2 separate regions of the Homo sapiens genome follow, and region 2 is linked to region 1. The links are contacts of gene promoters, found by promoter capture Hi-C in blood cells and fetal thymus (Javierre and others, 2016). All regions are on one chromosome and are shown on one strand. The core of a region is centred on a gene start or on the middle of the fragment in contact, and the rest is flanking DNA. Distances in the headings are between cores, read along the strand shown. Region 1 holds the start of WDR35 (WD repeat domain 35). Region 2 has its middle 17 kb from the start of SDC1.

Region 1 (5,119 bases), core at 929-3,428:
CACATTTAAGAAACAGAGAAAAACTTTCTTTTAACACAGTTTTAAAAAACTAAAGCACTGACAGATTGAACTATAAAACAGCATAAGCCAAACTTTAATTGGTACTCTTCTTTACTTAGGCTGTCCACTAGCCCTTTGTGTAGTGGTTAAAAACAAGGACTTGAATGTGAGACAAACTTAGTTTCACATCCTTGTTCCGCCACTTACTGGCTGCGTGACCTAGGGCAGTTAACAGCTCAGAGCCTCAATTTTCTCACCTAGAATACCTACTGCCCAAGATTATTGTGAAGTCAAATAAGATTGTGAAGGTTAAACATCCACTACATGGAAAATCGTCAATAAGTATTTATTATTCATACCGCATTCAAAGTTGTAAGGTAATGCTATTCAAAGTGCGGTCTGAGGACCAGCAACTCAGCTTCACTAGAAATGGAAATTCTCAGGCCCCATCCCGGGTCTATTGTGTGGGGGTAGAGCATGAAATCCATCTTAACAACCTCTTCCAGTGATTCTTATACCTAATACAGTTTGAGAAGCTATGTTGTAAGGAATCCAAAAATGTAATGCAGTTTAACCCCCTACATTTTCATTTTATGGAAGACTAAACTAAAGTAGTAAGATCCTCAGCTAACTTGTTGAAAGTCATTCAGTAGTCTTGTGGAAGAGCTGAGATTTAACTCCAATTACCTTATCTAGGTCTTCAATCTAGGGGGGCTAAGAAGTGGGAAGCTGTTTGCTGTGATTCCAGAGAACTAGATAAAGAAAGAAATCAAGCAGCAAAGACAAGAGACCTACTAATAGAAATGTAAAACGTATCCCATTTTCTGTTCTTGGACACTAGGTGAATAACCATTAATGCATCTGATAAGCAGAAAGGATGACACAGACCTGTAAACAATCTGCCAGATTTTCTTAGTGAAATGTTGACTCACAGGATTTCTTTTAGACTCCTAATAATATAGTACAATAATTAGACATAGCATAACACAGTGACTTATTTTCATTCTTCATTATTTTTCATTTTCCATTAATAACTCAGCAAAAACCATCCGATGTTTACATTCAACATTCTCTGAACTTTATTGCAAATATACTCCAGAAAAACACCATAAAATGTTTTGGTAGTTTTCCCTTTAAAATAATCAGAACTGCATATTGACAGATAACATGAGTAGACCGCACTGAACAAATAACATTAGCCAATTTACTACCAAACATGTGGGCTTGCATTCATTTACCTGTCTGCGTCTCTAATTTCAAAACTTTCAGTAATCCATCTTCACCACCGCATGCTATGAACCCTTGTTCCTTGTTCCAGGATACACACTGCAGCTTCACGTTATTGGGAATGGAAATCTGAAAAAGCAACCACAGCCGCACTAGCAACTTTTCACGAAGGAGCTGGGAAGTAAGTCTGCAGGAGATGAAAGCTGAAGAAAATCTTCCAAGAAGAAAAACGAACGGCCTTGCAGAAAAAAAATGAGCTGTTGTGAAAATGGGCATGGTCCCCTGAACTGACCCGGGCTCTAGCATTTGGGAAAGAGGGAAAGAAGTGCACAAAAGAGAAGGATAGTGACTGCGGAGGAAGCCAACGCCAGAGTCTCACCGGATGGATTTTTTAAAGGGAGGACGGGGAGAGGGTATAAATCCATACCACCAGTCCCTCTTCCTTTTTACCTACAACTTAGGCTATCCTATTGTTATTTCTTTTCTCTTGCCCAATGGCTCGTGGTGATCCAAAGAGTTTAAATCACGTGGATCAGCAACAAGTGGAGGAGGAAACATAGGGTAGCACGTGGCGACTTATCCTCAAGCCACCCAAAAGGACCTAGCCAGGGGCAGGAATGGGAGAGTGCTGCGAGAGGGCAGCAAGCTCGGCCAAAGACTGAGGCTCTGGGAACCGCAGGAAGAGGTCGGAGGCTGGACCCGGCGGGAAGGATGGCTGCGGAATGGCGAAGCCACGACCAGGACCGGGTGAAGGAGCCTGGCTTCTCGGGAAGGCAGCGGGAATCGCCGCAGGCTGCGGGAATGGCGGAGAAACGAGGACGCCCCCCAGGAAACTCACTTTCTTGCTCAGGTAGAAGAACATCGTGGGATCCCCGAGAGGGTCACGGCGGCCGCTAAGGCCCTCGACAAGTAACGGTTCTACGTCTCCAATCGGGAGTACCAGCAGCTCCGGAAAGCTCCCGTCGCCCTGGCAACCGCTGTTGCCCGGTCGCATCCGGGGCGCCGCGGGACACTTCCGGTGACGCCCTCGCACCGGGCACCGGCGTAGTGCGCCTGCGCGGACGTCGATGGGTTTGTGGGCGCAGGGCGCGAGGCGCGAGGCGGTAGCTGGGCTAGTCCTGTTCCCTGGCGTCTGGGCCTTTCTGCTCTCCGCAAGGAGCTGGGTCGCGACCTGTCACTGCCAGCCGTGCGCTCGCCCTCTGCGCCCCGTCTCGTGGTCACTGCCGCCCTCCCTCCCGCCACACCTGTGATGATCGCTATGGAGCCGCGCCTCAGGTGGCATTACTATAAACCTAAGAGGAGAGGCGCCCGTTCGAATAAGGGCAAATTATTTAGTATTTTGTAAGTTCCAAAGTTCCAACATTCTTGAAAGGGAAAAGCCATTTACTGTATTTGATAGGCTGGCGCCACTGGCCAGATGAAAGTGCAAATGTGCGTACTGAGATCTTACAACCCTTCTCTGTGTCTTTGGGGATTGGAGAACCTCTAGAGCAATTTAGGAATAGAAGATTTTGTTTATTCCGCTTGTTTTGATATTTTTTAACAGTTTAATTATTACCGCAACCCCGAGGGTCCTTTTAAAGGAATTTCTGTAAACGTTGGGTAATTACAGCGTACAATTGCTATTGGGGCATGGCCTCCCATTTTACAAATATTTGAGCGTTTGGTGTTTTCTCGTCTAGAGTCGACTGTTACATATTCTCTTCTTTTTCTTACCTTCTTTCTTCATTCTCCTTTGTCCTTTTGGAATGCTTGAGAGTTACAAAGCCTCAAAGTCTAAGGCATAGGGCAGAAATCCAAGTAGAACCACTCATGAAATTATTTGGTCTCACCTATGTTTTTATTTCTGGTTTTCCCTTTTACCATAATCTAGCATGTAATTTATGCATCAGTAGTTAATTTCCCCACTTGGAGTCTTTTCCCATCTCAGACAAAAATAAAATAAAAATCCTCCAATCCTTTGACCTGGGTGATTTGTCTCACCCAGCACAATCTATTATAGAATTGACAATAGTCCCTAGTGCCTTTCCTAGCAAATCTAAACTCCATCCAAAATCAGATCTTCCCTCAATCCTAAATGTTTTTACTAGGGAGCCCCCACCTCAAGTAAGCCAATATGCTTTCTGCAGGGCAACATTCCATCCGGCTCTGCTTCCCAAGCCACTTTATATATGGTCCTACCCTCTTAACAGGCCAGTTGTGCCTAGCCAAACCAGCACAAATCAGTCTCCATGAGGAATTCTTTCCAAACTTAACCCAATCCCATTCAGATAATGTTTGCTTTCCATTGTTTGTGTGTCTGTTTAAGATACATTGGCCCCTGTCCATAGGCTCCCTATACTGGACGCATGAGACAAATTAGTATTATCTAACCCAGGAGTTTCCAATAAACTGGTCAAGACATAATTAGTTGAAGCTAGTTACTGATGGTGACACCTGAAAACTCACCTCTCTTTATCTTTCCCTTCTTGCACATGAACTCTCATTTATTCCTTCTATACCACCATTTCTCTGTGGTATATTAATATGTATTACTGATTTTGGGCTCAAAAAAGTCTGGAAAATACTACTGTAGCTCTATGTCATACCCTTTCAAAATTTTTGAAAAGTAAGAGATGCTTTATATATTTCCTTGGTATATTTAGTTTTTGTTCCTTCCTTAAAGTTTATATTTTATATTTACATCTGTAGGATATATTTGCTTCTCAGGAGCTTATATTAATGTAAAGCTCATCATTATTTTATCCAAATTTAGATAATTTTATATTGAAGCCTTTCTTTTGAACCTGAACTTACACTTTTAGCCTCAGGAGTGTGAGATTAAACTATAGGAGGAGAATCAAACTTCTGTCTTTTGATAAGAAACTGTTGAATATCAAAATAACTGTTAATTCAGTATAATTTAAAGAAATATCTTTAATAGACAAAATTGATGAGTCATCAAAAATAGACATGATAATATGTAAAGGTAATAACTTTTATTATATTAAAGACAATGCAAACGAAAAACAGAATTGAGCAGTGCAAAATTTAAAGGACTGTTTTGTTCTCAAAGTTGCAAGTTTCAAAGCCAAAAGAATTATATGTATCAAATATATAAGTAAAAAAAAGTTAGACTTTCAAGCCTGTAATCCCAGCACTTTGGGAGGCTGAGGCAGGTGGATCACTAACATTAAAAAGACAACATTAGATTTTGTCGATTTATAGCAATTTTATAAATATATAACTTTGTCACTTGGATCCTGAAGCAAAATAATAAAGTGAATTTGGGATTTTTGTACTTGGTAAAAAGTTTAACACCCTAAATTCACAACTAGTGCTCTTTAGTAGTACATTTCTTTCAAAGACCAGAATGAATTAAAAATGGCAATGTAATGTTCACTTGATCTGTGTTAACTATTTTTAGATATGTGTATTACAATCTATTGATCACATCTTCAATAATACTCCAACAAAATAAGCAAAAAACAAAAAGTGTTAAACAGTTCAAAATTACATTCATCTCAGTTATATGAAGTTGTATGTGTAAATACCTTGTACAATTTGCACTCTCAGTAATAAGATTGATTTATATTATAAATACTATCAAAAGAAACTAGACCTAAAGTTTCCATTGTGAATATGGTTATCTAATATAAACATTTAAAAATTAAATGGCTCAATTAGTAGATAAAGAAACACTAAACTTTTCATTCTATTTCCTACCAATCATTTCACAGTCATAACTTAGAGACACTAAAGTTTGCTCTTAATAAGTATCTGCATATGTATTTCCTTGGAAGAATCATGCTGATTCTGCAGAAGATCTTCATACAATTTATCCAGTAATATTCAAGCATTAATACAGATAATGGCAAATTATTAGCAGGAACATTGGCAATAACAGGTGTGC
Region 2 (5,119 bases), core at 1,965-4,464, 250 kb after region 1:
TATACTATAAGAATTCGCTCAAGTATAATGGTTTTCTTTTTCTTTTTTTTTTTGCACATAGATGACCAGCCTACCAGGTCTTTTATGCAGTTCGACATACAAGGTGACAGCAAGGTAAGACTAACGAAGTGCCAGTTTTGGTGCCTCCATCTCCCTCCCCTGGATCCTGATCCAGTGACTGCCAAAACCAGAAGGAACTGGGGTAGGGTGCTTGATCATGGGGAAGGCTGCTGTGGTTCGCCCGGTAGATGGGAAAAGGAAAAGGTTGCACTTCTTCACAATTTGAATGACATCCTTGTCCTCCAACGTATGGTCTTTACCCACTTTTTGAGGATTGTGTTTCACAGAGAGACCCCAGACCAGAGCATATTTAAATTCTTTGATAAGATTTTTGTGAATCTTCATGCAGAAATCTCCACTGTGGTCCTGGAGTAAGGAAGTACCACTGAGGATGTGTAACCTGGTAATTGCCTTTGGGTTTGGTGCAAATTCTCACTAGTTTCAGATAGTCCCAGATCTTTTCCAATAGGTCATCAAAATTCCAGTGGTGATGGGCAGAGATGGGTACACCGTGAGGCACCTTATAGTGCTATCCAATTCCTCAATGGAGATTTGGTCAATCTTATTTAACATAAGATAACATTTGGTCAATCTTATTTAACATAACATTTGGTCAATCTTATTTAACATAGATACAGGGGATATAAACTCTGTTTCCTTCCACCACATCAATGAGGTCATCAGCTGTAGCATCACTACGTAGAGTCACATCGGCATTATGAATCTTGTATTCAGCCAGAATGCTCTTCACAGTTTCAGCATCCAGCTCACTCTGTGGGCAAGTGGCTGTGAGATGAATGCCTCCCTTGTCCTTCTTCTTAAAGCCATTGTTGGGGGGCGGTGGTTGCTGTTCAAGTGAATGCCAAAGACTTCCAGCTCATTTTCAATTATCTTCTTATGTCCCAAAGGTTTCAGGACATCCAGAACAATCAGGATCAAGTTACAGGTTCGGGCCACTGCAATGATCGACGACCTCTACCTTTCCCATCCCTGGCACCTTCAATAATACCTGGGAGATCCAGGAGCTGGATTTTGGCACCTTTGTATCTGATGACACCAGGCACAGTGCTCAGAGTAGTGAATTCATAGGCTGCCACCTCAGAATATACCCCTGCCAGGTTACTAAGCAGTGTCGACTTCCCCACAAATGGAAAACCAACAAATCCAATTCAAGCATCACCTGTCTCGGCCACATCAAAACCTTCTTCTGCACCTCCACCACCACCACCACCCTTTGGAGTAGTGAGTTCTCGACGAAGCTTAGCAAGACGAGCCTTAAGCAGCCCCAGGTGGTGTGCTGTGGCCTTGTTGAGTCCAAGCCATCTCCTCTTCTGTCTCCGCGATCTTAGCTAGGGTGCTGCTCATCGTGGCGAGTACCCTGTGGCCTCCACACTGACTGTCTCCCTTCACACACCCGCGGGCAAACTAGCTCAAGTATAATGCTTTTCAAAAGTAACTCAATGAACTTGGGAGTGTAGGCCTCGGTACAGTGGCCCACAGACCCCTGAGAGCACCATTGTGTGACAGCTCTTCACCGAGAGACACCGCCTTTAAAAACGCGTTTAGGGCCGGGCGTGGTGGCTCATGCCTGTAATCCCAGCACTTTGGGAGGCTGAGGCGGGCAGATCACGAGGCCAGGAGTTTGGGACCAGCCTGACCAACATGGTGAAACCCCGTCTCTACTAAAAATACAAAAATTAGCCAGGCATGGTGGCGTGCGGGTGTAATCCCAGCTACTCGGGAGGGTGAAGCAGGAGAATCGCTTGAACCCTGGAGGCGGAGGTTGCAGTGAGCCGAGATTGCGCCACTGTACTCCAGCCTGGGCAACAGAGCGAGACTCCATCTCAAAAACAACAACAACAACAAACAAAAAACAAAACAGAAAAACGCGCTTACTTCCTACTGGCTTTACAGTGGTGAGCATTACCTAAGCACCTAACTTCAGGCTTTGGGGTAAAGAGAGAGAAACACACAGTCTGGCCTTCCAACAACTCACAGTGTGGGTGGAGAAACGTAAGAAAACAAGCCATTGCAATAATTTGCCATCACCGCCATCATGACCTTGTGCCTGGAGGAGCTGTCCCTGGAATCTGTCTAGGGAAGCTCCAGGGCTGGCTCCAGGAGACGAGGAGGAACTGGCTGGCCAGAGACAGGGGCAGTAGGGTTGTCAGATTTAGCAAATAAAAACAGAATGCCCAGTTAAATTTGAATTTCAGATGAACATTTTTTTTTAGTATAAAATGTATAATTATGTCCTATGCAATGTTTGGGATTTATTTATACGAAAAAATTTAGTCGCCCCACCTGTGGCTTTAGGGCCGACTTGTTCAGGAAGGGAAGAGGAAGAGCACAAGAAGGTTTGGTGCAAGAAGATGGGTTCGGTTCCGGACATGTTTGGCGAAACGGGGCCAGTGGCCACGTGACTGGAGATGTGCGATTCCAGGCTGCAGGATGTCAGGGCTCGGGCTTTAGGGGCGAGGCCTGGGGTCCGCGGTGGTAGGATGTTATGGGAAGTGCCCTGTGATGAGGCTGCAGGCGGTCGTACATGGCAGTTGAGTGGGATGGGTAGAGTTCTTTCCTTGTTCGAGAAGGCAGGGTGTGTCTGAGCAATCCTGTTTAGAAAGATCAACTCCAAGTAATTTAGACGAAGAAACTTCTGGAGCTGGACGGATCCCCCAGGGTGCGCCGCGCCTGGACTGGGAAGGGCCCCCGGACCCGCGGCGCAGGGGAGGGCCGGGCCGCCAGGGGGCGCTCTCGGCGGACGGGGCGGGGGTCCCCCTTGGTGTCTCCCAGGCAGCTTCGCAACAGCCCTGCTGGATTAGGCCCCAATGAGCAAACTGAAGCCCGGGTGGGGAAAGGGCGGGGGGGGGGGGGCTTGAGGGCGTCACCCAGGCGGGTCAGTTGCTTTTTTAAAAAAAATTATTTTTATTTTTTTTATAGGGAAGGCAGGGGCATCTCGCCATGTTTCCCAGGCTGGCCTCGAACTCCTGGACTCAAGCGAGCCTCCGCCTCGGCCTTCCAAAGTGCTGGGATCACCACCGCGCACAGCCACTTTTGCAGCTTTCTAAGGCCGCCCCCAGGCCCTTGCCACCCTGCTGCGTGAGCCAGGCTTGGGCCTGTGGGGAGGGCTCTAGGTCACCTGGTGGCTGCCGTTGTGTCTACAGCTGCCTCTTCCTGTGACAAAGCTGACTCTTTGTCTTCCAGGTCCCTTCTCTAGTTTTCTACCCTACTGTAGAAGAGGGTGGGTAATGGAATATAGATGAAGCTGTCACCCTTCCAAACTCTGGGGGGTGACCCCCTCCCTCCTCTGCTCACAGGTGCCTTCCAAGCCCAGACTCCAGTGCTCAAACCAGAACTGACTTTTGAAGGAGCAGGGCAGAAGAGGACTCCCAGACACCCCTCCTCTTCTCCAGGGCGAGCCCATACACGTGCTTTTGTCCTCATCCCTGCCATAGGAAGGGGCCCACCAGGTGTGACCCGGCTTTCCAAGGCTTCTGGCCATAAAAGGCCAGGGGTGGGAATAAAGCAAGAAAGAGATGAGACTCCGCCCATGTCTCGGGGAGCCCCTCAGCTCTGTAACTGGCACTGCTACCTCCCCTGCCTCCAGTCCCTCTCTACTGCTGCTCTGCCAGCCTGTGCTGGGTCCTCCACACCACCGCACTTGTCACTCACCTGCTCAAGAATCTGTGATGACCCCTATTGTTAACTGAAGCATTGCTTGTATCAAGAATCTCATTCTGTTTCTCCCTCCACTGGGGTGTGCACCTCTTGAGGGCTGTATCCTCAGCATCAAGAATACTTGACACAGGCCGGGCACGGTGGCTCATGCCTGTAATCTCAGCACTTTGGGAGGCCAAGGTGGGCGGATCACTTGAGGTCAGGAGTTCAAGACCAGCCTGGCCAACATGGTGAAACCCCGTCTCTACTAAAAATACAAAAATTAGGCTTAGGTGGGCATGGTGGGCCACGCCTATAATCCCAGCTACTTGGGAGGCTGAGGCAGCAGAATCGCTTGAACCTGGGAGGTGGAGGTTGCAGTGAGCCGAGATTGTGCCACTGCACTCTGCACTCTAGCCTGGGTGACAGAGCAAGACTCTATCTCAAAACAAACAAAAAATGAAACCTGACGCAAAGTAGTTGCTCAATAAATAAGACTATGAAAATGCACTGGCTGCTGCACCCACCTTGCTCTCAATCCCCCAAAGCCATCCCCTCATCCTCTTCATTTTACCTTTCCCTTCCAAGCCCAAGGCACTGATTAGTTTTGAAATCTTGATTCCTGTCTAGATTTAAAGGCTTTGAGTTAGGAATTACTTTTTTTCCCTCCCGCCTAGGACCTCATGCCTTCTCAAAAAATAGGTAAGACCAGCCAGACACAGTGGCTCATGCCTGTGATCTCAGCACTCTGGGATGCTGAGGCAGGAGGATCACTTGAGTCCAGGAGTTTGAGACCAATTCAGGCAACATGACAAGACTCTTGTCTTTACCAAGAAATTTAAAAATGAGCTGGGCACGGTGGTGCATACCTATTGTCCCAGCTACTCAGGAGGCTGAGGTGGGAAGATCGCTTGAGCCTGGGAGGTTGAGGCTGCAGTGAGCTGTGATCATGCCAGCGCACTACAGCCTGGACGACAGAGTGAGACCCTGTCTCAAAAAACAAAACAATACAAAAGATAAGACTGAATGTTCTCCATATGGTCCTATTTGGTCATGGAATGATTTGTGGTGGATTTTCCTCCACTCTTCAGCATTCCTTCCATAACCTGTTTCTGGCCATGAGCTACATGCTGTTTACACAAAAAAGATATGATCCTGAACTGGGTGGAAGGCTTCTGCTCAACTGCATGGGCACCAAAATGTGTGCTGAGGGAAATCACACATGATCTTCTCAAGCAGCTTTTGACTTCCCTCAGGATCCTAGATGACCATGTTCATAAAGAATTATTGGCCAACATCCCATATCTTCTGACTATGAAGGTGAAAACGTGTGCTTTGCGTAGAGTTGGATGAGACCCTTGTTTCTGATTTCTAAATACCTACTGCTTTGAGGAAGCTTCCA

Evidence for each region. Contacts are between HindIII fragments. The CHiCAGO score rates a contact against its expected background, and 5 or more counts as called.
Region 2: a fragment that was not itself captured here is called in contact with the fragment with the promoter of WDR35 in region 1 in 1 of 17 cell types (fetal thymus); the score reaches 5.0 in fetal thymus.

The regions. Positions count from the first base shown.
Region 1 is chr2:19,987,927-19,993,045 of GRCh38, forward strand. It overlaps WDR35 (WD repeat domain 35), which reads right to left and starts at 2,179. Exons shown (of 27, transcript NM_020779.4): 1 at 2,066-2,179; 2 at 1,239-1,356. The coding sequence starts at 2,089. WDR35-DT (WDR35 divergent transcript) reads left to right here and starts at 2,278. Exons shown (of 3, transcript NR_110235.1): 1 at 2,278-2,568. It overlaps MATN3 (matrilin 3), which reads right to left. Exons shown (of 8, transcript NM_002381.5): 8 at 4,126-5,119. RefSeq lists enhancers at 1,910-1,959, 1,976-2,479, 2,110-2,159 and a silencer at 2,320-2,399. The HindIII fragment of the contact is 12,234 bases long and covers 1-5,119 here.
Region 2 is chr2:20,239,622-20,244,740 of GRCh38, forward strand. It overlaps the pseudogene DRG1P1. Among named protein-coding and RNA genes, the nearest start is that of SDC1, 17 kb to the left of the region's middle. RefSeq lists silencers at 1,514-1,660, 2,695-2,924. The HindIII fragment of the contact is 3,794 bases long and covers 1,318-5,111 here.